Regions from separate parts of the Homo sapiens genome. Here regions 2, 3, 4, 5 and 6 are each linked to region 1. Evidence: promoter capture Hi-C in 16 types of primary human blood cells and fetal thymus (Javierre and others, 2016). All regions are on one chromosome and are shown on one strand. Each heading gives the region's core, a stretch centred on a gene start or on the middle of the fragment in contact. The rest is flanking DNA. Distances are from core to core; before and after follow the strand shown. Region 1 holds the start of LINC00609 (long intergenic non-protein coding RNA 609). Region 2 overlaps LOC105370453 (a long non-coding RNA gene). Region 3 overlaps LOC105370453 (a long non-coding RNA gene). Region 4 holds the start of LOC105370453 (a long non-coding RNA gene). Region 5 has its middle 63 kb from the start of MBIP. Region 6 has its middle 46 kb from the start of MBIP.

Region 1 (4,155 bases), core at 421-2,920:
ATGGAGTGAGACGCTGTCTCAAAAAATAAAAAGAGAGAGAGAGAGGGAAAGAAAGAAATTATTTGCTATATAAGGATTGTTGTTAGGAGGAAATCAACACTATAACTGTTTGTTTCTGTCTTTGACTCTGGTTAAATTACTGTACGTCCCGCCAGCATACCTGATTTCTATTGATAGGGGTAGCACAGCCTCGTAGTTATGAGCATGGATCAGAAGCTAGGGGCTGGTTTAAATCTTGATCTGCCACTTACTAGCTATGTTTCTTACCTCTCTGAACCTTGGTTTCCTCATCTGTAAAAGGGGCTCATCATAGTTGTGAGGAGAATTAAGTGAACTAATATTTGTGCCTGGTATGCAGTAACCACTATGTATGTTTTTGAAATAAATAAATGTTGTTGGAGTGAAACCCCCCAACACATCTCTAATGCCGCCTTGTGACTAGTGGATTAAGTGAGCACTTTGAAAATATGTATTACTTGAGTGATTAAATTGCCAAGCTTCCCCATTTCATTTACATCTTATTTCCATTTCTAGTGAATCATTCCTTCTAAGCACAAGGTTGTGAAAGGAAATCTTGAACACTAATAATAGCATTACAAGCTACTATAACCAGGGCTTACTTACATGATTATCACCAAAGCTCCAATAAATTTCTCAATTTAAATATTAAAAATCAGTCAATGATCTGTTAGCTGGAAAATATCTGGGGTGAAAGAGTGATTACCACTAAAAAATAGATTGAAGTCATTGCTGCTTTTAGAGCCTAGAAAAATACAAAGATCTGTTATTCTAGGTAAGTTACTTACTCTCTCTGCCTCCTTTATGGGCTGCTGGAAGGATTAAATGATTAGTGTGTGAGAAATGCTTAGAACAATGCCTGGCTCAAAGTAAGTAATCAATAAATGCCAGTTCTTATTATCACAGGTATTCTGAATACAGGTTGTGGCGATCAGGAGCTTTGATGACCATGGCAGGTGGCAATGCCCCAAAGTGCAGAAGACGTCAATTCCTCTTCCATATCCCCAGTCAACACACACATTCCCCTCCACAACCAAGAGAAGTGGGCATTAAAGAAAGGAAGGGCAAGAGGAACGACAATTCTAAAAGATCACCAAGGTGTATAGTCTGAATTATTTGGACTAGTTCTGCTGTGATCTTAGCCAATTGACCCTCTGCCCTAATTTCCCCACCTGAAAAAAAAGAAGGCCAATTTATTAAGGGTTTCTGATGCGTGGGTGAAAGAGGCTGTTAACACTCGAAAGTATTATAGATTAACAATCTTTCTAACCATTTTAAATATTAGCAAATGTTCCAGCTCACAAAGTGCCATGGTTTTAGTGGCCTGGAAAACGCTGCAATTTGTTCAAACATCAGTGGGTGTTATTTCTGGATGTTAATCAGTACCATTTACCTTGAGAACCTGGAAAATGTGTGGACTGTGCAAGTCCGCCATCTGCTGGTCCTGGAGACTCTGCGCCGCAGGGCAGAGATGCTTGTCCAATGCGGCCGGCACAGGAGCTCCTTGGAGAGCAGCAAACCAGCCAAAGCTGTTCCCACCACCTCAGGTCCTGATGCTGAATTATCACAGTGAACATGTTGCTTTCCCAAAGGGAGGTGATTTGTTTGAGAGGGTATGTGTGTGGTCTTTAAATAGTTTTGTTCTTTGTGCTTACATTATCATCTAGGAAGAAAAGATAATTTATTGCATCTCAGAAATGAAGCGACTCTGAGATAGCATCTATTTCAAATGCCTCATTTTACACAAAAGAAAAAATGTGGCCCAAGAGTCAGACAACTTTCCCAAGTTACTCAGCCAGTAGTGGCAGGACAGTATCCCCAAGGCTCATGCCTGGACACTTACTCTCGCTACCTTGGAGAAGGTGAAGGAGGGCAGAGGAATCTGCCAAAACAAAGAAAACTTCCCAGCCAGTGTCCTGGGTCACTGTATACGTCTTACTGACATGGCACTTTAGCCATAGTTTGCAAAGAGCTTTAACTTCTCTTCTTATATCCATATAAAAACTTTCACCTCTGATTGTAGCCAAAAGCCAAAGCCCTTTTATGCCCTATTGCACTTATGAAAGGGGAAAAATGCAAGTAAGGATACTTTATCTTGTGATTATTTTCACTTCCTGAAAAGCCAAAGATCTAGCAGTTTAATCACAAAGTCTGTCCTGTCATTCAGCAGCAGATGCCAGCCTCTTGCCCGGCAGCCACCAGAATAGAAGAACCCTACAGGTCAGAAAGTCTACACTCTTATTTCTCCACCAGAGAGAGGTCTCTCTTAGTTTATACAGGCCAACTATTTTTTTTTAATTGGTCTTAGTCCAATAATGACATATTTGCCTGGGTCACCTGCCAGCCAACCAGGAGCGCTCATTCAGCTGGGGTGTGGATACAGAGAAATTCTAGTGCCATCCAACAGAGGGCAGTAGTGCACAGACACATAACCACCCTGCTCAGCTCTCTCCTATCAGAAAAAAGGGGGTGGGGGACACAGGTGCATATTCTTACTGCTCTGACTCTGTCCTGAGAGTGGAGCCAAACATTTTTCAGATGCCAAAATCAATCTTAAAAGTCAATGATCTGACAAGGACAAATATTAATCGCTAATTCCTGTTTCCCCCCACTTCATGACGCTCAGCTTCATACTCTGCCCCTGAGCCTCCCAAACCAAAGTTCTTTTATCACGTGACAGAGACACAAGCCTTGGATCCATCTGAAAACAAAGCTGACAAGTTTCTCACCACCTAGCAACACAAAAAACTCTAAACACAATCCAAAGAATCCCCAAGGGAAACAGCTTCAAGAATCTTGAAAATCATACCTATTTTTGTTTGTAATGTGTGAAATTATTACAAGTATGTTCACCAAGAGGACTATTGATGGATGACTCACAATTTAGCTAAATTCAATGAACCACACACTGTGCCTATCCCAGTAGGTGACTCATGCATTTTTTATTTCAAGTATCAAGTGTTTGCCAAAAACAGTATTTAAAAAAAGTAATGAAAATTGTTCTGAAAGAGCTCATGAATAGGGTAGGACTACCCACCGACAACCTCATTTGTGCTCTGACCACTTACATGGGATTTGGTGGGTCTGCTACAGCAGCGCTCGACAGAGAGTGCGCTCCCCACAGCAACGGTGGCAGGCGGAGGGCAGGCTCTGCAACTCACCACACGTGGTTATCTCCCTCAAACCCACATCTCAGCAAGGATTCTAAAGCCCAATGATGTGTATGTGTTGCGGGGGGGGGGCAGGTACATACAGGTTTTGCTAAAACATATTAAAAATAAATGCATACATCCATTCAATTCCTGTTTGTCTTCTATTGAGCTTATCATTTCTCCCCCTACCTTTTTTAATTTAAGAAATCTAATTATCAGAGAAAAATGGAGGGAATGAAAGGTCACTGAGCAGAAATAATGAAAATGATTGCTGGTGAGGAACAGTTAAGGGGTGTAGACTTTATTCTGACCATTAGTGTTTTCGTGTGCACCTGCTACTAGGCTATTCACAAAACCCTCAGTAAGAGTCCCCCTTTCTCAGCCTGCTTCTCTGACCAGCCAAAGGAAAAGTTTTTAGGTCCCACTGACTTGCAAAAAAACCCTCAAGTTCACTGACCACCTAATAATATCCTTGTAAATCTCAGAAAGACATTACTGATTTGGATGTTTTAATAAATATTTGCAGCTTTGTGGTATTTCAAGGGGAAAGGATTTTAACACTTACAAATGCCTTTTCAAAGGATGTGAGGATGAGACAGAGTTCCCAGTGATGTTAGTATTTATTCCTAAAGCTTACTCTTCTTTTAAATCACAAACAATGACCATTTTTCAGGTTGTGTATTGACTTTTTCGTTTGCTGATCATTGCAGGCAAATTATGATGAAGTGTACGCTTTCCTCTTAAGGTCCCAGGAGACTTTCCTCCCCCCACACATTGTGGACATTGCTTCTTTTATAAGCAGGTTCTAAAAAATAAGTGCAGGAGGAACTCAGTTGGCTGACTCAATGCTTTGCATTATATGGTCACTCCTTATAGGTTTCTGATCTCTTGTTGCTTAGCAACATCTACACAGATATAATTTCCATCCGGTAGTGAAATCAAGTACTTTTGGCCTCTGTCAACATCAAGATTAGCTGATCTCTAG
Region 2 (4,155 bases), core at 475-2,974, 490 kb before region 1:
TACTGTTTTCCATAATGACTGTGCCAATTTACATACCTACTAACAGTGCACAAGCATTGTCTTTTCTCCATATCCTCTCCAGCACTTTTTATTTTTCATCTTTTTGATAATAGCTATCCTAACAGGTGTGAGGTAATAGCTCATGTGATTTTTTTTTTTAAGATAGAGACTTGCTCTGTCATCTAGGCTGGAGTGCAGTGGCATAATCATAGATCAATGCAGCCTTAAATTCCTGGGCTCAATTGATCCTCCCACCTCAGCCTCCTGAGTAGCTAGAATACAGGTACATGCCACGATGCCTGGCTAATTTTAAAATCTTTTGTAGAGACGAGGCACTGTGTCGCCCAGGCTGGTCTCAAACTCCTGGCCTCAAGTGATTCCCCCTGCCTTGGCTTTCCACAATGCTGGGATTATAGGCATGAGCCACCATGCTCAGTCCGTCATTGTGATTTTGATTTGCATTTCCCTAATGATTTTATCTGCACATTTGGTTTACTAGCTATACTTGTTTTGTTTTTCAAAAAATTAATAGCTGCTCTAGGGTGTACAGTATACATCTTTAACTTATCACAGTCTACTTTCAAAAAATATTATACCATTTCATGTATAGTTTAAGAACCTTACAAAGGCATCCTTCCAAATTCCCCCTCATTCCTTTGTGCTATTGTTCTCAGATATTTTGCTTCTGTGTATGCTGTAAACCTTATAATACAGAGTTGTTAGTTTTGCTTATAGTCGATTACCTTTTAAAAACATTTTCTAAATCAGAAAAAACTTTTATATGTATTCACATGTTTACCATTTCTGGCACTTATTTCTTTGTGTAGATCCAGGAATCCTTTATTTCTTGTTGTATAGGGCTACTGGCAATTAACTTTCTAAGCTTTTGTTATCGTTGTTCTTTTTTAAAAAATTGTGGTAAGAACACTTAACGTAAGAGCTACCCTCTTAACAAACTTTTAAGTGTACAATACAGTATCATTAACTACAGATTGGACAATAGTTTTATAGAACTTAACCAACTTACAGAACTGAAATTTTATAATTGTCGAATAGCAACTCCTCCCCTCTTGTTGATCTTAAAATGGTTTTCTTTCACCTTGATTTTTGAAAGATATATTTTCATGGGTGTACTATTCTGGGCCAACAATTTATTTTATTTTATTTTTCTGTCAGCACTTTAAAGACGTTCTGTTGTCTTCTGACCTGTGTGGTTTCTGGTAAGTCAGCTGTCATTTTTTATCTTTGTTTCTCTTTATGTGGTGTATCTCTTTCCCCTGACTGCTTTAAAATGTTTTCTCATTATTAATGGATTTCAATAACTTGATTATGAAGTGCCTAAAGAGGTTTAGTTTATATTTATTCCGCTTGGGGTTTTTGGATCTATGTTTTTTTTAATTTCAACAAATTTGGATTTTGGGGGCCATTATTTCTTCAATTACATTTTATGTCCACTTCTCTTCCCCAAGTCTTCTCTCCTGCTAGGACTCCAGTTAAATGAATATGAGACACTTTGATTAGTCCCACAACTCACTAAGATCTTGTGCCATTTTTTTTTCAGTATCATTTTCTCTTTGTGCTTCATGTTGGTTAGTTTCTATAGCAGTGTCTTCAAGTTCAGTTTTCTTTCCTGGTATGGCATGTTTTACCTCTAGAAGTTTTATTTGGCTCTTTTTAAATCTTCCATTTTTCTCCTCATCAAGTTTATGTTTCCCTTTACATCTTGACCATATTTATAAGATTGTGGTACTTGTTTTAAGGTTCTTGTCTATGAATTCCATGATGTATGGCTTTTCTGGGTCTGTTTCTGTTAATTGCTTTTTATTCTGGTTATGGGTAATATTTTTCTGCATCTTTTAAGACCTGGTAATTTTTAATTGGATACAAAATTGTAAATTTTGCTTTCTTTGCTACTGGCTTTAATGTATTCCTTTAAAGATTGTAGAGGTTTTTTGTTGTTGTTGTGGTTTTGTTTTTCCTGGCATCCAGTTAAGGTACTTCAGTATCATTTAAGGTTGGATTTTAAGTTTTTTTTTTAGAATGGGTCCAGAGAAACCTTTATTTTGGGACTAATTGAGTTCCCTCACTAGGCATGAGCCTTCTGGGGGTGCTAACTATTGTATGGAGTCTCTTTATTTTGGTTAGTGGGAACATGAATGCCTTCCAATTCTGTGTGATCTTCAGAATTGTTCTGGGAAGCCTTTTCCCAGCCAGGGGGTGTTTTCTCTTATGTATGTTCAGATTAATACTCAGCCAAAGTCTCAAAGGGACTCCTCTTCAGATCTTCAGAGATTTTTCTCTGTGCAACACTCTTTTTTGGTACTCTGCCTTATAAGTTCTAGCCATTTTGGTATCCTCAGACCTGATCTTGATCTCTTTAGCTCAGCAGGCATGTCAGGTTCTTTATGTTCTCCTGCCTGCGCTGTGGCTAAACACTGGCTCTCAGTAGTAAGCTAGGACATCCTAAAGTGCATCTCTTTTTTTCCCTTCTCTCAGTGATCAGTCCTATGCTGCCTATTGTCCAACATCTGAAAATGATTATTTCATCTATTTTCATCAAGCTTTCGAGTTGTTTATAATTGAAGAGTGATTCCTATTACTGCTAATTCTCCTTGGTCAAAGGAGAAGTCCCTCGGTTAGATTTTGCCCCACCATTCTGCTGAAACTCTTTGCATGAAGGCCACCAATGATCTCCAGATTGCTAAATCTAATATTGCCTGTATTTAAGATTCACAAAAGACAGTTAACTCTCCTTCAGAACTCATAAAACTATACAGATGGCAGAAGTAGAATGACATGTAAGAGCACTGAGTAAACCTATTTAGCACTTTATTTTTATTTTATTTTATTTTTCATTTTGGACACTTCAAGACCATTGAGTACTGTTTAGCACTTTAAATAAAATTAGTCATGAATTCTTAAAAGTTTCATAGACAGCGTGGAGCTTACCTAAGTGAAATGCACTTGTTTGGAAATGCACCTGGGATATTGTTTTTATTCAGGTATGGTGAGGCCAACACATGAGGAGACAGTTGCCACTGAAAAGGTAGTCTGTTTCTCACAGTTCTCAGGAGGAGGGAGCTTGCAGTACCACACAGGGACACATAGATTTCGAAATGTGGGTCAGAGGAGAGGCAGAAAGAGAAAAGGGAAAGCACGGGCAGAAGCCTTGATTGTGGTTGTCATGGGAAAGGATGGGAGAGAAAGGGTAAGGAGCAAAGCAGGGGTAGGATTGGATGGTTTGAATAATTTCTATGGGCTCTGGGCTATTGGGGTGGTCCTCAGTTGTCCACTGCATGGCCCTGGAATGATTAGAGCAGAGGAATATTGCCTTCTGAAGTGTAAAAACCAGCTAGAGATGGTTTGAAGTAAGAGTTCTGGACTAGTTAGTTTGCATACGAAAGGCATGCTCACAGGCAAGTTGTTTGCTATCTCAGAAATTAATTAACCCTGGGAGGGGCAGGTCCCAAGTTGTCAAAGCATCATAAAATGCAGAAAAAAAAACATGACTGATACACAACTATAACAAACTGACCAACCTCACAGAGACTTGTCTTCATCAGGGAATGAGAGAGGGGAGACAAAGTGATTCCTGGAGGGCTTGGTCCAGTCATGAGTCCAGAGGCCAGAACCCAGAGCCACTGTAGTGAATGGGCCGCTGTCTTCTCACAGCTGGATCTCTACAGTCTTCTTGCTGCTGGTTTTACTTTTCCTCTTCACACTGTAATCATGGTAATGTTTATAATGTATGCCTGATCATATTGCTCATCCACTTACACTCTGCAGTGGCTACCCATTATTCATAGAATCAAGTTGAAACTTCCTAACATGGGATTCAGCTAATATTTAGTCTCATTTCTTGCCATAAGTCACTCCCCCTCAGTGCCCTACATGCACCAAATCCTGTCCCCCACCAAACACACAATGTAATCAGCTATACTGAATTTCCCCAGTTCTTTAAAAACATCGATCTCCTTTTTCTTTCTTCATACTTGTTCCCTTTTGTTCTAACTTCGAAGAATCCTTCAGAAATTGACTCAAGCATATTGTCCTCAGAGAGGTTTTTCTTGACCGTCCTCCAATCCAGGCCGGCTCAAGGGACCCACTGAATCTTCACACAGCACTCTGCTTCCCCATCATGGCTCTAACCACACT
Region 3 (4,155 bases), core at 1,153-3,652, 470 kb before region 1:
ACCTGTGCATTCTAAATCCCAGAGAATGTGTGAGAACTGAAGTTCCATTTTGAAACCCACTATTTTAATGTTATAGAATTAAGGCTGGTGGTATCACGGATGGGCTAGTTGTTTATATATATATATATATGCTTATGCTGTTCTAGAGAGCTGAATTGCTTCTCCCAGAGTATAAAAATGAGCTTTAACTTATAACAAAGGGAAATATGTCATATTACTACTTATTTTAAACCGACCCCTGGAGTGTTGTGATTTCTCCATCTTTGATTAAAGTTCTTCCCAAGCAGGCTGATTTTATGAATTTTCCTGAACTGTGTTAGATGGCATCACATTAGCATCAACATGAATGAGTAGCGAGGAGTGGGCTTGGCACAAAGGCGTGACCTCGTATTAGCTGCTATTCTGATACTTTATTTGTCAGCACTGATTCAATAGCGGGCAGAAAAGGCTCATAGGAGATTATGCAGAAAGGCTAGGCTACACTTTACAGCCTTTCTCAAGCCATCAGGGCAAAGAATTGATGCTTACTTACATCCATAATTATATGTGGCATTTTGGCTCTGTAATTAAATTCAAAATAAATCACATGCAGCAATTTGTTAAATTTAAATGCTCTTACAAAAAAACAAATAAGAAGATCAGTGAATGAAATGAGTTTCTGAACTTAGGGGTATGATTTGAAGAAAGATTGTCATTCACTCGAACTAGCAGGGTTTGTGGCTGCAAAAATAAACCCAGTAATAATTCTGCTGAATCTAGGATGTGATGAGGCCATTAGAATCTGTGCCATTGGGCCGGGTGTGGTGGCTCACGCCTGTAACCCCAGTACTTTGGGAGGCCGAGGTGGGCAGATCATGAGGTCAGGAGATTGAGACCATCCTGGCTAACATGGTGAAACCCTGTCTGTACTAAAAATACAAAAAATTAGCTGGGCGTGGTGGCGCGTGCCTGTAATCCCAGCTACTTGAGAGGCTGAGGCAGGAGAATCGCTTGAACCGAGGAGGCGGAGGTTGCAGTGAGCTGAGATCCTGCCACTCCACTCCAGCCTGGGTGACAGTGAGACTGTCTCAAAAAAAAAAAAAAAAAAAGGATCTGTGCCATTGGATTGTATTATACAGGAAATAACTGCAGTAAACCCTCATGTATGAGAAACTCAAAACTTTAAGTTCAAAATAAGTAATGTTGGCAACCCCCTTTGGGTCCCCTCCCTTTGTATGGGAGCTCTGTTTTCACTTTATTTCACTCTATTAAATCTTGCAACTGCACTCTGCTGGTCCATGTTTGTTACGGCTCAAGCTGAGCTTTCGCTTGCTGTCCACCACTGCTGTTTGTCGCGGTGGCGGACCGCCGCTGACTTCTATCCCTCCGGATCCGGCAGGGTGTCCACTGTGCTCCTGATCCAGCGAGGCACCCATTGCCGCTCCCGATCAGGCTAAAGGCTTGCCATTGTTCCTGCACAGCTAAGTGCCTGGGTTCGTCCTAATCGAGCTGAACACTTGTCACTGGGTTCCATGGTTCTCTTCCGTGACCCAAGGCTTCTAATAGAGGTATAACACTCACCGCATGGCCCAAGATTCCATTCCTTGGAATCCGTGAGGCCAAGAACCCCAGGTCAGAGAACACGAGGCTTGCCACCATCTTGGAAGCTCTGTGAACAAGGACCCTCCGGTAACATTTTGGTGACCATGAAGGGACCTCCAAAGCATTTGTCTCTTCCAGAATCAAAGCTGAAAAACTACAAATCATTCTTCAAATGGAGCCCAGATGCAGTCTTTGACTAAGAGCTACTGCGGACCCCTGGACTGGCCTGCTAGCCCATGCTCCGATGTTAATGACATCCAAGGCACCCCTCCCCAGGAAATCTCAACTGCGCAACCCCTACTATGCCCCAATTCAGCAAGAGCAGTTAGAGTGGTCGTCGGCCAACCTCCCCAACGGCACTTGGGTTTTCCTGTTGAGAGGGGAGACTGAGAGACAGGACTAGCTGGATTTCCTAGGCCAACTAAGAATCCCTAAGCCTAGCTGGGAAGATGCCCGCATCCACCTTTAAACACGGGGCTTGCAACTTAGCTCACACCCAACCAATCAGAGAGCTCACTAAAATGCTAATTAGGCAAAAACAGGAGGTAAAGAAATAGCCGATCTATTGCCCGAGAGCACAGTGGGAGGGATATAAACAAGGATTGGAATATAAACCCAGGCATTTGACAACCCCCTTTGGGTTCCCTCCCTTTGTATGGGAGCTCTGTTTTCACTCTATTTCACTCTATTAAATCTTGCAACTGCAAAAAAAAAAAAAAAAGTAATGTCGATAGTCTGGTTTTAATGTATTTTCCAAAATAATTTAAGGTCTCTTAAGAATTATATGTAATATTTATTAAAATCCAGCATAATTTTTCCTAGTCCTTCAGAAGAAGCTAAGATACAAAGAAGAGAATTATCCAAATCAGCATCAGAACCTGGATAAATCAAAATAACTATGTATAGCACCACTACTTCATGCTTACTGAAGCATGTTTTAGCATGTTTTTAGCATATTTTTCAGCTTAAAAGCACTCTTATATACATTACATAGGTATAGGTGTCCCTAGAGAGTCCAGAAAAAGACTTTTAATTTTAGTCATCTTAAGATGCTTGCTGTCAGTTGGGGAAGTCTGACTGGGTAGGACACGGTGAATGGGGCAGCCTAGGGCCAGACTTGCCCAGTGGACTTGGAAAGTAGGACAGGGGTTGATAAGGGGATTTTTCTAAGTGTTGTCATTGAAAGAACTTCACGTTCCAGAACCTGGACATTATGCATGAACGATGTAGCAGAATTATTACTCTATGCGGAGGAGTGTAGTGTGTGCTGGTGTGGTTGGGGGTGTAAAGTCTTCACTTTTCCAGCTAGGCGCAACATCTTGCTCTGGGCACGCTAACAAGAGGGGCTAAATTTCTAGTGTGCCCCCCCGCCATGTGAGAGAGGCAAAGGAAAGCCATATTTGTCTACCTACATCTTTATCATGTCTACAAACTTTGCCCTGCTTATTGGCTGCTTTAGGAGTAAATCAAAGTAAAATCAACCTTGAACCAAGTCTAAGTTATTGTTCTTGCCCATCCGTGAACCTGAAACAAACTTTGTGGTCTGCTGAATGCAGTGTCGTCAGCTTCCATGGCTTCCATGCCTGAAGCCAGGCTCCCAAAATCTGAATTACAGGTATTTCAGTCCATTCTAAAGTTATTTTTAGAAAACAAGCAAATATAATGCTCCAACTTCTCATGGAAACAATCCACAAAAGACAAGCAGCTTCTGCAATCAGACTTCTAAAAAATTCCATTTTACCTAAGAAAACTTGGTGGATACTTACTTTACATTTCTTTTTAACCAAAGGACTGATTCTTATTTTCCCAAAATGAAAGGAGTCTTTTCTAAAGGTTGATATCTACCATATTATATCTGCCATATTCTCTGTTAGAGGCAAGACAGTAAGTCCAGCCCACACTCAGGAGGGGATTGCACAAGGAAATGAATCTCAGAGAGTGGGATCAGAAAGGGGGACATCTTCCATGCTTCTTACCACAATATTCAGGGTCACTAACAGTCAAAGAAACACAAACAAAGTACCATTTTAATTGCTTGTATTAAAAAACTTTGGAAATAATAATATCCAGGAATTGCCAAAGTATTATGAAACATGCTTTGTTAACAGCAAATATAAATTGATATGGTGTTTTGGAAAGCAATCTATAAATACACATTAAGATCCATAAAATATTCCAATCTTTTAAATACTGTAATCCTACTTCTAAGAATCTATCCTAAGGAAATAATTATAAAAACAAAAAATAAAACAAAAAATCTGTATGTATGGACATGTCTATTGCAGTATTATTTATAATAGTAAAATTGAGGGCAATGGTAAAATACTATCAGAAAGGATCAATTAAATAAACATGTTCATCTACTTTATAAAATTTTATATAATTGTTTTTAAGATCATGGTATAACTGTGAAATACTTAGAATTTAATATAAAATTTAAAAAAAAGATATAAAACTTTGTATAAATAATAATTATTATCAGGCAAAAATATATGTAAGAATAAAAGACTAAAAGAATTATTCCCAAATGCCATCAATAATCGAATTTGAGTGGTAATATCATAGATGATTTTT
Region 4 (4,155 bases), core at 458-2,957, 450 kb before region 1:
TCAGAGCACTGGGCACATTTCTAGGAACATGTCTAAGTGTTTTTGAGATGGCTGTTAAAATCAAGGAGCTGGACGGGCACGATGGCTCATGCCCGTAATTCCAGCACTTTGGGAGACCGAGCAGGGAGGATTGCTTGAGCCTAGGAGTTTGAGGTGGCAGTGAGCTATGATTACACCGCTATACTCTGGCCTGGGCAACAGAGAGAGACCCTGTCTTGGGGGGAAAAAACAAAACAACAAAAAACAGAAAATAAGGAGCTTACGGTCTGCCTAAAAAGAACACAAACACATGGCAATTAGGAAATCACTCAATTAAGAAATTGCTTATCAATGTAACAGAAAAGTGTAATAGAGATTCATCCATTTATTCTGCACACATATATTGAGCTCCCACTATGTGTCAGGCATTTAGTTGTCAGAAGAGGCAATTGGATTTTTAAAGAGAAGGATATGACTTAGTTGTGGGGCTGGAAAGAATGATTTTTCTGGCTAAGTGAAAAAGAATAGCAGAGTAACATGGGCATATTGGCTGGGATGGGTTTGGGAGGGTGGAGAGGATCTGGTTTTGACCAGAGTCCAAAGAAGGGGGAATAATTTGGGGGAAAGCCTGCCTGAGTGAGTTGGTACCGTAGATTGGAGAGCTGGAAGGCACCCATCGAGTGTAGCTAGTCCCAGAAGTTTTCCTACTCCAATATTTTCTAAAGGTTATGCTCCTACTGCTGCAACACAAGGCAGAACCCCCTTGTGTCAGGCTGTCAAGCTAATAGGGCCACTGCCTCCTCCAGAAAGGACATGCAGAAAGTGCAAGCTACTCCATTGGTCACCAAATATGCCTCCAAATGCCCTCTGACTTGGACAGGACATTCGCATAACAAAATTCCGAAGCAAAGCATAATTAAAAGAGGGTTTTAGGTACAAGAGCAGCTTCCAAGCCCTGATCTACACCTGGGCTCTTTCAAATAGCAGGTGCAAGGAGACTGGGTGATTCAAAGAGTCAATCATAACTTATATTGGCTTTGGGTGGACCGATAGACAGCCTGACGTATGGTCGGGCGGACAGTTAGAATGAGCGAATGCGTGGATGATGTACTACCAGTCTCCGACCACCACCAGTTTTCCCTAGCCGGAAACTAGTAGCAAAGCTTCCCCGAGACCGCTCTAAAGCTGCAGTTCTCCAGACGGCCGCCGGAAGAGGGCGCTGCGGATCGCCTCGGTCTGCAACCTTCAGACCCCAAGTCCTAGGCAGCGAGGGAGAATTCAGCCTCCCTCAAGTCCCAGAAAACATTGGGCCTCGGAGATTCCCCCTCCACCCTTCCCTCACACCCACCCCAATGGCCTGGGGTCGATACTGCGGCCACCGGAAACTGCCTGGGACAAGTGTTGGGGATGTGGGGGAGACGGGCTGTGGTGGGAGGTTGGAGAGGAGGAAAGGAGCGGAGGAGGGAACCCCAGCGCTGCTGGCAAGCCCGCGGGAAACTCGAACACCCAAGGCCCACGGGCTCCCACTGTTGGGACTGAGATTTGTTGGGGAACAGAGGGCAGAAAGAGCTATAGGTTTCGACTACCTAAAGCTGAATGAGGCTGCACAGGTCCTGGGGCGAAAACAGCCGCGCCGCCACAAGGATGCTTCGGGAATCTGTCCTTTAATTATCAGGAGCAGCTGCGAAACTTACCTTAGCGCAGCACGAACCCTAGAGCGCCCCCGAGGGTGTCCCTGCCCCTTCCGACGGGGGCGTCTGGCGGATTCGCGGCGTAGCACGGCAGCGCGGGCCTCACAGGGTCGGCTGACCGCTTCAGGCCCGTGCTCCTACCTCCCGTCTCCGTCTTGGTTTCCTCGCAATTCAAAGGGAGCTGCTGAGCTCCCGCTGTTCTCTGCTTTGTAACCCGCTCCCTCAGGTTCCCTCCTACCCCAGGCCCCTTCCCGCCAGAGGGCGCCCCTGGAGTCGGTGGAGAAGGTAGGGGCTCTAAATACAAAAATTCAAGACGAGTTGAATCTTGGCTTGAACTGCGTGACAGGAAAATAGGCAAGTTTGGAGACCACAGGTGTTAACTTCTAGTGGGGCTTGACCCGACAGAGGAGCAGATTCTTCAACACCAAAGGCCTAAGGGCCGGACTCTCTTCGCGGACTCTGGCCCTCATAGACGCGCCCTCGCCTCCCATACCCTCCGTAGAGCATGCCTGTGAGGGAAAGGGAGAAGCAGAAGCCGCGCTCGGATGACTTGGCGCCCCACCCCCCAGCCTGCCCACAGGCCACGAATTGAGAAAAGCTTTCCCAAAAGGAAAGTCCTCTCAAAGGCCCTAGACGGTCAAATCGGGAAAGGGAGCAGTAGAGGGATCCTTCCTCCCGCTGCGTCTGTGAAAGCCGCCTGTCTGCACGCCCCGGGCTCCCGCGGTCCCTCCCGAGGATTTCGGTTCTGGTGCCTGAGAAAGCAGCGCAGAGGGGGCCCTGCGAGACCCCTCCAGAGAAATCATCCCCCGGAGGCATTCCTCGGATCTTGGGGTTGCGGAGCAGCGCCCCCCAGCGCCCAGTTACACTCCTGCCTTCCGCTCCCTGCGCCTGGTTGCCTCGATGGCACTCGCGAGCCCAGCTCAGCCCGGCTTAGAAGCCTGTGCCTAGCTGTGGGAGACTGCGGGAGCAACTGAGGGGCCCAAGTGTTTCTTGTTGAAGGTCAGAGGCCTAGAGTCACAGTTTCTCTAAATCCAAAATACAGAATCAGAAGGAATAACTCCTTCTATTAGCGACTTTTGTGATCTACAAACTCAGGCACATGATCTCATCCTGAATTGTTTGGATCCCTAGCACAAACCAAGCCAGTACACAGGGCAGGTTGTGACCATTTTTTACAGCTCAGGAAACAGGTGCTCGGAGGCTGTGTTTCCTCAGCGTTTCTCGAGGCACTGGGGGGTTCAAAGATAGATAAAACAGGGGCTCACCCTCAAGGAGGGAAGCCAGAAAACACACACTGGTTTACTCTGGCTGTGATGGGAGTGACTCCAGGGTGTGGCGGGAGCCCACAAGAGCGGTACTGCACAGCTGGAAAAAGGCAAAGCCAGGGTTCAAACCTAGGACGGACTTCCACTCAAGGACTCCTCTCACGACCTTGGAATGCTGAGAGATCAAGAAATGGTGCAAAAACCCACACACGAATCTCCATTACAACCCTCTCTATCTCACTGGATCCTAGAGTAACATCTGTCAGAAAGTAACTACATATTATTTGGGTGATTTATTGTGAATGTGTAAGTTCCGTGTGAGTAGGAGCTGCATCTAGATTAAGTTTGAATTTTCAGGCCTTGCGTAGTCCCTGGCACAGAGCCCTAGCTGAATAAATACTGTCGAGTGAATCAAAAATTGCGATAAAACTTGGAGCAAAATAACACTACCAGGAGACAGAGTGGCTCAGCGCCCTAAACAGGTGTGGAGGACCACAAAGGGAGTTAGAAAAAGCAGTTGGGGGGTGGGGCGGTGAGACAGGTGGTTCCTCCTCACAGTTCCACCTGGTCCAAGCTACAGACCCCAAATTAGCCTTCTTTTGTATGAGCCCTCTGTTCTTGTCTCGCAAAGTGACACTGGAGGGAGAGAAAGGAGTTTCCCTGCGGCCACGCTGGTGTAAGCAAAGGCTGATGGCGATTCCGCGCATCTAGGGCCGAGCCTGGGCCTGCGCCCCCTCGGATTCCTGGCGGAGCCGCAGCCAGCGAAGCAGAGCGTGGTCGGAATAGAGGCAGCGACCGTGTGAGGTCGCGCCAGGGAAAGCTCCGCGAGGGGCCAGCGTTGGGCCCTGCCCTGCCCTGACCGCTCCCCACTGTGCCCACTCCACCCGGGAGCAAGCTAGTTGCGGGATAAAGGAATACGCGCAGACTTCGCAAAGTGCAATCGGGGTTCTTCGTATTCATGGAAAAAAAAATCACTGGTTTAGCCCGGGTCTGCCCTATTTAGGATGAGTCCAGGAGGCGGCGGAAAGAAAGGACGCTCTTCGGTCAGAGGGAGGTGTTTCGGGCCATGGGAGGGACTCTGGAGGCCTTTGCTTGGATAAGCTTGGAGATACAGATGTCCTTCTCTTCCCTACAAGGTGCGTTAGTCTCCGGGCTTATTTTCGGCAGTGCAGTGGTACTGGGGAAGAAGGCAGAGCCGCGTGTTGAGAAGGGGCTAGGGT
Region 5 (4,155 bases), core at 854-3,353, 310 kb before region 1:
TGCCAGTGTTGTGTGATTTAGAGGGCCTTGGGAAGGCTTCCCTGCCAATACCTCCCTTATTGGTTTTTTAGGATACCAGAAATTCCATCCTTAAGGAGTTTAATTTCTTCAGATTAAGAGATTACTCAATATTAAAATGCTGCATTGAGGGCCCTTCTTATTTGTTCCTGCAGCATGTTGTATATACCTCTGAATTTTAATGAATTTTAATTGCTTTCTATTTTCCCAAGACTCAGCTCATCCCAGAAGGGAGGATGTCAGATGGCTCTGTTCCCCAGTGCATTTCTCAAGGCCAGGCACAGAGAAGGCTCTCAGTATGTGTTTGTCAGTTGAATGAATGCTCCTAGGAGACAGAACATAAAGATTAGACCTTGTATTTCTACTCAAACTATTGAGAAGTTGAATTGAGGAAATATATGTGAAGGCATTTTGTAAACTATGAACCACTCTACAAATGTATATTATTATCATTGGAATGCGAATTATTTTCTTAGATAATTTCCAAGGGATAGGTTTTGATGGGTAGAGGTATGATATTCTAAGTCTTCTCTACCAATAATTTTTAAAAATCTCTGACTTGTTCTCCAGCTGCTTCATGCTAAAAAGCTCAACTTCTTATAGGACAAAGGACAGCTGGGAAAAGAAATTAATGAGGAAATGTGTCACTTCTGTAAAAACAGGCATGAGTGAATGGGTCAGGATTATATGGGAACAAGGTATAGAAAAATACATAAAGCATGTGCTGAAAGCCTCAAATAGCACTTTTCATCTATTCCAGAGTCTTTGGTCAATGACACTTCTTTATATGAGATGGAGTTCTTTGGCACAGGACTTTTGTCCTTGTGAAAAACATGGCTTCTCTCTCTAGGATGCAAAGAAAATGTTTTAAAACTGGAATTTTTGTCATTAGTTTCCCAGGAAACCATTTTGGTTCTGATGCTAATTTGTGTATCTGACTGTTTTGACTGAAACTGAGGCCTCTTGCTCTAAGGGAGCAGAAGCAGAAGGAAAGGCTGCTTTGGGTTCCTGCCCACCAAGAGGGTGCCAGGCTGAGAATGCCAAGTCATCTCTCAGTTCCACCCTATGCTTGGTGCCAGTTGGCACCAGGCTTCTCAGTTGAGGTCACCGAGTGTGGGGCTGGGAGTTGGAGAATCACTTTCTTTTTTTAGTTCTGACTCCAAGAGAGTAGAGGTTGGGCCCAGCAAACACTCACTGCTGTCTGAGTTAGATGGAGCCAGCAGACAGGCCTGAGCAAGACAAACAGTTCACATCTTGAAATGGTTCTAAGTTTCCTGCTTAAGAAATGTTCTTTATCTCCTCCCTTAGATGGAATGATGTCCCTAGAGGGCATGGATACACCTCTACCAAGGCATCTACAAATGATCTGTATTTACATTTCTGTGGCTTTTTCTTTCGCTAAGTAGAACCTCAGTGATGATGGCTTTGAAGGGTGCGGCTTTGCGTGCCAAAGAATGTCGCATTCTCATTTAATGCCTTTAATGTTCCCTAAAGAGGTAGTTTGTTTGTGCATTTCAGCTCCAACTGCCTGGTTGAGAAGTAGGTTTGTTAGCTGCTGACAGTCCTGCTGACTTTCTGTAGGCCGTGCATAGCTCACACGCAGGACTCTCTCAGTCAGACCTGCTCTCGCATCTACATGCAGCACACAAAGGAGACCAAGGTTAACATGGTCTTGGTAAAAACCACTCAAGTGCCATGTAACCACCAAGTATGAACCCTGGACTAGACTACTGCTTACTTTATAGGCAAAAGCTCTCACATATATCTCAATAGCATTCTCTCTAGTATAGAATCATGCTGTTTAGTGATTCCAGTATGGTACTCGCTAGCCACATGTGGCTACTGAGCATGTGAATTATGGCCAGTCTGGTTTGAAATGTGTTCAGTATGAAAGCATACTAGAATTCTAAAGACTTAGTAGGAAAAGATAATGTAAAATATATCAATACTTTTTTGTATGAGTTGCGTGTTGTAATGATAATATTTTGGATAGATTGGGTTAAATAAAAACATGATTAGAATTAATTTCACTTGTTTCTCTTTCTCTTTTTATTGTGGCTGCCAGAAAATCTAAAATTACATAAGTGTTTCACATTATACTTCGATTAGGCAGTACTGACCCAGAGTGAGTATCACAATGCTCATTCATTCCCTCAGTCAGTGTTTATTGAGTGACTAACGTGCTAGAATAAAGACCCAGGCTGTGCTCTCAGAAGGCCGCCATTCCAGGAGAGAGGCAGCTATCTACAGGGGAATAGCCCAGGGGTGAGGGCCGGAACAGAATAACATGCAGAATAACAGGGTGAGTGCTATGGAAGCCCCAAGGAAAGGAAGACACTGGTGAAGAACATAATCATGGAAGGCTTCAAGGAGAAGCTGAGTTTTAAAACACACAGGAATTTTAGCAGTTAGAGGAAAAGAAGGCAGAAATGTGTGAAGAGGTACAGATATTGGGACATGCGTGGCATGTTTCAACAAAACACAAGTAGTTCAGCTGGGCGCAGCTTTTAGTACAAACAGGAGAGTCAATGGTGGAGATGAAGTCAAGAAGATAGGCTGAGATTTCAGTTTCTGAAGGGCACCCTGTGCCATGAAAAGGAGTTTGCACTTAGAATAAAAAGGAATTTAGGTTGTCTAACTGTAATTTTTAAGTGCCATACACCCAGAGACTTTGAGCCTGATGAGTTAGGCCTTGGAATCAGCATTTTTGAAAAGCATACTAGATGCAGACCCCACTTTGGAAAATGTTACTTCAGGTGAGAGGTGTTTAGTTCAGCAGTGACATGCTCATGCCTGCATTTATGAAAGATACTCTGAGAACATAAGGAAGATGTATGGGGAGTGGTCTCCTGAAGCTGTAGAGAGTGTCAGCTATTTCAATTATCAAGGTGAAAAATGATGAAGGTCTGCCTTAGTCAATTTGGGCTGCTACAACAAAAATACCACAGCCTGGGTGGCTTAAACAACAGAAATGTATGCCTCACAATTCTGAAGACTGCGAAGTCCAAGATCAAGGTGGTGGCTGATTCTGGTGAGGGCCCTCTTCCTAACTTGCAGAGGGACACTTCTTTATGTGTCCTCACTTGGCAAGGAAACACACACACACACACACACACACACACACACACACACACGGGGCGATATCTGGAGATATTTTGATTATCAAGGGGGAATGCTACTGAAATGTAGTAGGTGGAGGCTGAGATGCTGATATATGTCCTATAATGCACAGGACAGCCTCCTTCCTCCAAGAAAGAACTGTCTGGTCCAAAATGTCAATAGTATTTTGTGGAGAAACCCTGATTTAGCCAAAGGAAGCTGTCTTGCCCAATGTCACACTCCCTCCCCAGGGCCAGTCCACATCTAGTGCAGAGGTACAAAAACATGGCCCCCTTGGCTCAGTTTGGGATAACTCAGAAGTGCCGTCCCAGCACCAGCATTTTTTATGGGATTGGCTGATGTCTCTATTGCAAGCACATTGGAGTTCAGCTTCTCCCTCTGCCCGATCCTGCTTCCCTTACTTTCTAACAGGTGTTGTTTCAATAATTTCTCCAATAAACATCCTGCAAGCAACTATTTGTCTCAGAGTCTATTTCCTGAAACTTGATCTAAGACAGCTGGCACCAAGAATGGTCCTAGGATGCTGATCATAAAATAGAATTTAAAAAAATTGTATTTTAATAGCGTTAGGGGTACAAGTGGGTTTTGGTTACATGGATAACTTGTATAGTGGTTAAGTCTGGGATTTTAGTGCACCCAGCATCCAAATAGTGTACATTGTACCCGATAGGTAATTATTCACCCCACAACCCCCTCGCAACCTCCCTCTTTCTGAGTCTCCAATGCCCATTATATCACTCCATACCTTTGGACACCCATAACTTAGCTCCCACTTATAAGTGAGTATATGTGGTATTTGGTTTTTGATTCCTGAGTTACTTCACTTAGAATAATGGCCTCCAGTTTCATCCAAGTTGCTACAAAAGACATTATTTCATTCTTTTTTATGGATGAGTAGTATTCAATTGTATACAGATGATAGGCAGAGTAGATAGGTATATAGATAGATAACCACATTTTCTTTCTTTATCCATTGATGGGCACTTATGTTGATTCCATATCTTTGCAATTGTGATT
Region 6 (4,155 bases), core at 1,230-3,729, 300 kb before region 1:
ATTTTATGGTTTCTGGTTTATATTCACTCTGAGAATATATATAGTCATGACAAAGTTTTGAGGTGAGTAATGTCTTAAAATTGAGCCATAAAGAAGCTAGGGTAACTTGCCTAAGGTGGCACAGCTTATAAAGGGTAGGAGTTAGGAACACGCCCTAGAGTCTAATGTAGGGCTCCCTCTCTTGACCATCACACCACACCTCTGCCCAGGGAGGCTGTAACGGCCAAGCTAAGCAAGACAGACCTCAGGTTGGCACTCGCAATCATTCATGGCTGCTGAACGGTGAAATCATGCAGAAGCAGTCTGGCACAGTGGCTGCTTCCATAAACCTTTTAAGTCAGCGCACTTTGGAGGGGCAAGGTGTCTGTCACAGATCCCCTTTAGAATCTCATGAAAGCTCCTGGACTCTGTCCATAGGAAGTATGCATATTTACGCATATAGACACAAACACACACATGCACACACACAGTCACACACTGGGCTGCAGGGACTTGCTTATCTTCATTCTGTCATCTCTGTATTAGGCAAGGAAACAGGCCTGGATTGGACGCTTACTAGAGTTTTTTTGCCATTCAGTTCCCTAGAGAACAGTGCAGTTTGATTATATTTGTATTTGTAGACAGGTGAGGATGACCTATTTAATCAATACATCTAAGGGCTAAGAGATAAGCTATATTATTCAGGTTCTGTAACAAAGCTTATGCTAATTTAACCTGACATGTAGCATGTTAGGTTAATATGATTTAGATTACATGTATCATTTTTAGAAATTGATGTTTTTGTTGCTGGTTTCTCCTGACATTTTTGAACTATAATATGTAATGCAATACTTCTCCAACAAAGAAGGTAATTCTTACTAGTGAAGGTAATTAATGGTTATTTGATCATATTACAGCATAGAAATCATGTTTTTGCCACACAATAGGTTTCCTAATTGGTGATCCAAGGATGACCACATTCATTTTCTGCCCATAGAGATTTCCCACTGTGCATGGATTATCTCTTAATATTGTGATAGCAGCAAATAATGGTTATAGCCAGTAAGAAAATTAATTTACAATGCTTCAACAATCATTATAAAAGACCTAATAATGCTAATTTAGGTGTAGGATGAGTCATCCAATTAGTTAATTAAATAGAACCGTGCTGCCAGTCTCCTATAATGGAGCACACTGTGTTGTAGGTGTTTGATAGAGATGAGCAATGCCAAGGGAAGGTAAAAGAGTACACACTGGCCCCCACAAATGCATGTAATGTTTATACTTATGAAAGCACAAGCAAAGGTAATCACTTTGCCAAAAATCAGAAACAGTCATTTTTTAAATAGTTATTTTGCTCTTATTTTACGAAGAAAAAATTTTGCTGGTCTATTTGTTAGCTTTATAACTTCCAAGAATGTTTTTAAATTTTGATTTGATTTATCAAGTCCAAAATGCTCCCATAAATTTATTACCCTTTGGTTTTTCTTAAAGAAAATAATAAAATCACTGTCATTGGGTTGAACACTACCAATATCTCCATCTATTTAACTTCTTTTAGTTGCAGTAACTTGTATCTAATTCATAAAACTCATATGCCCATGTGGGCCATAACAAATGGGGGTTGCAAAGTTTAATTAGCTTGTCTAGCCGGTGGTCCCACATAGCTTAGGATTCAGAGGTCCTAGTTATTTCTCCCCTGTAAGCTTTTGTTATTTCACACTAATAGGTTTTTGTATTTTTAGTCTGTCTTCATGTGAGAAGTACCCTGCCCCTTCAGTGAGTTTAGCTGCTTTTTCCTAGGCAATGCCAGATGTCCTGATCCTCTTTGGGGTGAAGAGGGGGAAAGCATTGGTATAACCAGAAATCACATATTTCTCATTTGAATACAATGTAATTGCTCAGAAAGAACAACTGTCTCTACCAAGAGGGTGAAATACTTCTTTTCTAACTGCCAGCTTGGAATAACTAATTTTAAATGTTTTGTGTTATAAAGTAGGAAATGTTTTCTTTTTTATTAAAAAAAGATATTGAACATGAATACAATAAAAGCTATCTAATGATTGAATGGAAGTTCAACATTTTTTTGAAGAGTTTACAAACCACAATAGATTTTCTTCCTGTCAATTCAAATATTCATAGGTCATACAGGCTGGCCTCCTACCACAGTGTACCTATAATTCCTTATTTTAAAATACTAATTAACTTTTAAGCATAAGTCTTTTAGCTCTGGATACGGTACTGCCTATATGAAGCAAATAACACGACTGAGGTGAAGAATGGTGTTTCTTGGAATAGGTATTGTTTGCCAAGCTGTATGCAAGAGCCCTACAGAAAGTAGAAAAAGACGTTATAGAAGAGTAAGCAGACATTTTTACAAGGTCACTTCATTCAGACTGGAAAGTGGCCAGCACAATGTCATTATTTACAACAGGATCTGGGAACACTTGAGGAAATTACAGACCATTTAGTTTTGATTCCATTGTAGGGGGCAAAGTCTTAGGAAGTATTTTAGGAGATTAAATGGGGAACACTGAGAAAAGCACAGCTTGATTAAGGATAGCCAATGCAGTCTCTGGAATGAAAAAGTCATGCTTCAATAATTTTTTGACTTCTTTAAGGAAGTAAATGCCAAGAAAATCAAATGAATGCCTCAAAATTCTCTATTCTAAATTTCCAGGAGGTGTTTGTTAAAGTTTTGCTTGACAAATTAGCACACACAAAGAAGTGGTTCTTAAAATTGGAGAAATGCAGGGGACAAAGATTAATCGTGCATTAAATTGTCCTTAAAATGAGATGGAATCACAGGACCAAAAGAATTTTACTGAGACAAAGACATTATAATAGTCTGAGTATTTATGATCAGCATCGGCATCATGTTTTTGTGCCTTTATTATGTAATTAGACAGAATTTTTCCAGAAGGCAATGGAAAAAATGGAAATCTTTGACTTTCAAGAATACATGGTCTAATAAAGATAACACTGATTCAGGTTTATCTAAGTAGACAGAGAACTAGACAAACATAACAAAAACTTAGTAAGACTAACTCTTAGATGGCTAATAGTGAGGAAAACATGCTGGTTTTTAAAATTCAGGACAAGCATTCATAGAACTTCTCTTTGGGCAAGGGAGGCAAAGCGGCTATGTTTGCCGGAAGGGCAAACCTTCTAACCATCAAAGGAACAGCAGAGCAGGGCCTTTTCTGGGCATGAGAGGGCTCTGTCTGGAAGGTTATCCATGTTCCCAGTCTAGGTAGCTGGTAGAAGGGTGATTGTCCTTGAAGGACAAGCTTCAACTACACATGAATTGGAAGTTAACTGAAAATGAAGAGGGAGTAGACCAAAAATGAGCAAACAAAATTGGGGTACCGGATTATAAGGCATCTAAGTCCTTTCCAATTCTAAAATACTGTGATCTCCCAGGGGATCCTCAAAGAATCTTTTCAAACTAGACAGGAAAGATTTCCTGCTGAGTAAAGTGAACTAGGGATGTATATAAACATCCTCTAGAAGGCAAGATTGCTGATATAATAATAGGGGAGAAGAGTTCACTATATAGCTGACATTTATTGAGTGCTTACTCTGTCCCAGGTGCTTTGCTAAGTATTTAACATACATTATCATTTACTTTAATCCTCTCTAAAATCCTAACAATAGGTAGGTACTATAATTATCCCCATTTTTCAGTTGAGGAAACTAAATTAGAGAGGGGATTTAAGTTGCTTAAGACTCACATGGGGCTGGGCACAGTGGTTCACACCTGAAATCCTAACACTTTGGCAGCCAAAGCAGGAGGGTCACTTGAACCCAAGGGTTTGAGACCAGCCTGGGCAATATAGTGAGACCTTGTTGCTATAAAAATTAGCCAAGTGTGGTGTCATGCACCTATAGTTCCAGCTACTTGGGAGGCTGAGGTGGGAGGATTGCTTGAGCCTGGAAAGTAGAGGTTGCAGTGAGCACCACTGCACTCCAGCCTGGGTGACAAGAGTGAGACCGTTCTCAAAAAAAAAAAAGAAAAAGAAAAAAGATTCACATGGCCAGTTAAGTATAAGTTACTGCAGCCAGTTATTTTAAGCCAGTATATGAAAGTGCTTCAATTTGCCTGATCATAAGACTTGTCTAAGGTACTTGACAAAAACAAAAACAAAAACAAAAAACAGACATTCTAGGCCCCTC

The links. The method cuts DNA at HindIII sites, captures the fragments that hold promoters and counts their contacts. A CHiCAGO score of 5 or more calls a contact.
Region 2: a fragment that was not itself captured here is called in contact with the fragment with the promoter of LINC00609 in region 1 in 4 of 17 cell types (M1 macrophages, M2 macrophages, M0 macrophages and 1 more); the score reaches 9.9 in M1 macrophages.
Region 3: a fragment that was not itself captured here is called in contact with the fragment with the promoter of LINC00609 in region 1 in 1 of 17 cell types (M2 macrophages); the score reaches 5.0 in M2 macrophages.
Region 4: a fragment that was not itself captured here is called in contact with the fragment with the promoter of LINC00609 in region 1 in 1 of 17 cell types (endothelial precursors); the score reaches 5.2 in endothelial precursors.
Region 5: a contact is called between a fragment that was not itself captured here and the fragment with the promoter of LINC00609 in region 1, in 1 of 17 cell types (M2 macrophages). The highest score is 5.3, in M2 macrophages.
Region 6: a contact is called between a fragment that was not itself captured here and the fragment with the promoter of LINC00609 in region 1, in 2 of 17 cell types (endothelial precursors and megakaryocytes). The highest score is 5.6, in endothelial precursors.

Annotation. Positions count from the first base shown.
Region 1 is chr14:36,067,942-36,072,096 of GRCh38, reverse strand. It overlaps LINC00609 (long intergenic non-protein coding RNA 609), which reads right to left and starts at 1,670. Exons shown (of 3, transcript NR_073454.1): 1 at 1,412-1,670. The HindIII fragment of the contact is 3,305 bases long and covers 500-3,804 here.
Region 2 is chr14:36,559,998-36,564,152 of GRCh38, reverse strand. LOC105370453 (a long non-coding RNA gene) reads right to left here. Exons shown (of 3, transcript XR_001750715.2): 2 at 3,540-3,721. Among named protein-coding and RNA genes, the nearest start is that of NKX2-8, 21 kb to the left of the region's middle. The HindIII fragment of the contact is 1,678 bases long and covers 886-2,563 here.
Region 3 is chr14:36,541,699-36,545,853 of GRCh38, reverse strand. All of the region lies in intron 1 of LOC105370453 (a long non-coding RNA gene), which reads right to left. Among named protein-coding and RNA genes, the nearest start is that of NKX2-1, 24 kb to the right of the region's middle. The HindIII fragment of the contact is 8,986 bases long and covers 1-4,155 here.
Region 4 is chr14:36,522,727-36,526,881 of GRCh38, reverse strand. It overlaps LOC105370453 (a long non-coding RNA gene), which reads right to left and starts at 2,193. Exons shown (of 3, transcript XR_001750715.2): 1 at 1,674-2,193. It overlaps NKX2-1-AS1 (NKX2-1 antisense RNA 1), which reads right to left. Exons shown (of 2, transcript NR_103710.1): 2 at 3,866-4,155. RefSeq lists an enhancer at 1,078-2,016. The HindIII fragment of the contact is 1,126 bases long and covers 1,145-2,270 here.
Region 5 is chr14:36,381,256-36,385,410 of GRCh38, reverse strand. No RefSeq gene overlaps it. Among named protein-coding and RNA genes, the nearest start is that of MBIP, 63 kb to the right of the region's middle. The HindIII fragment of the contact is 5,190 bases long and covers 1-4,155 here.
Region 6 is chr14:36,364,227-36,368,381 of GRCh38, reverse strand. No RefSeq gene overlaps it. Among named protein-coding and RNA genes, the nearest start is that of MBIP, 46 kb to the right of the region's middle. The HindIII fragment of the contact is 1,584 bases long and covers 1,688-3,271 here.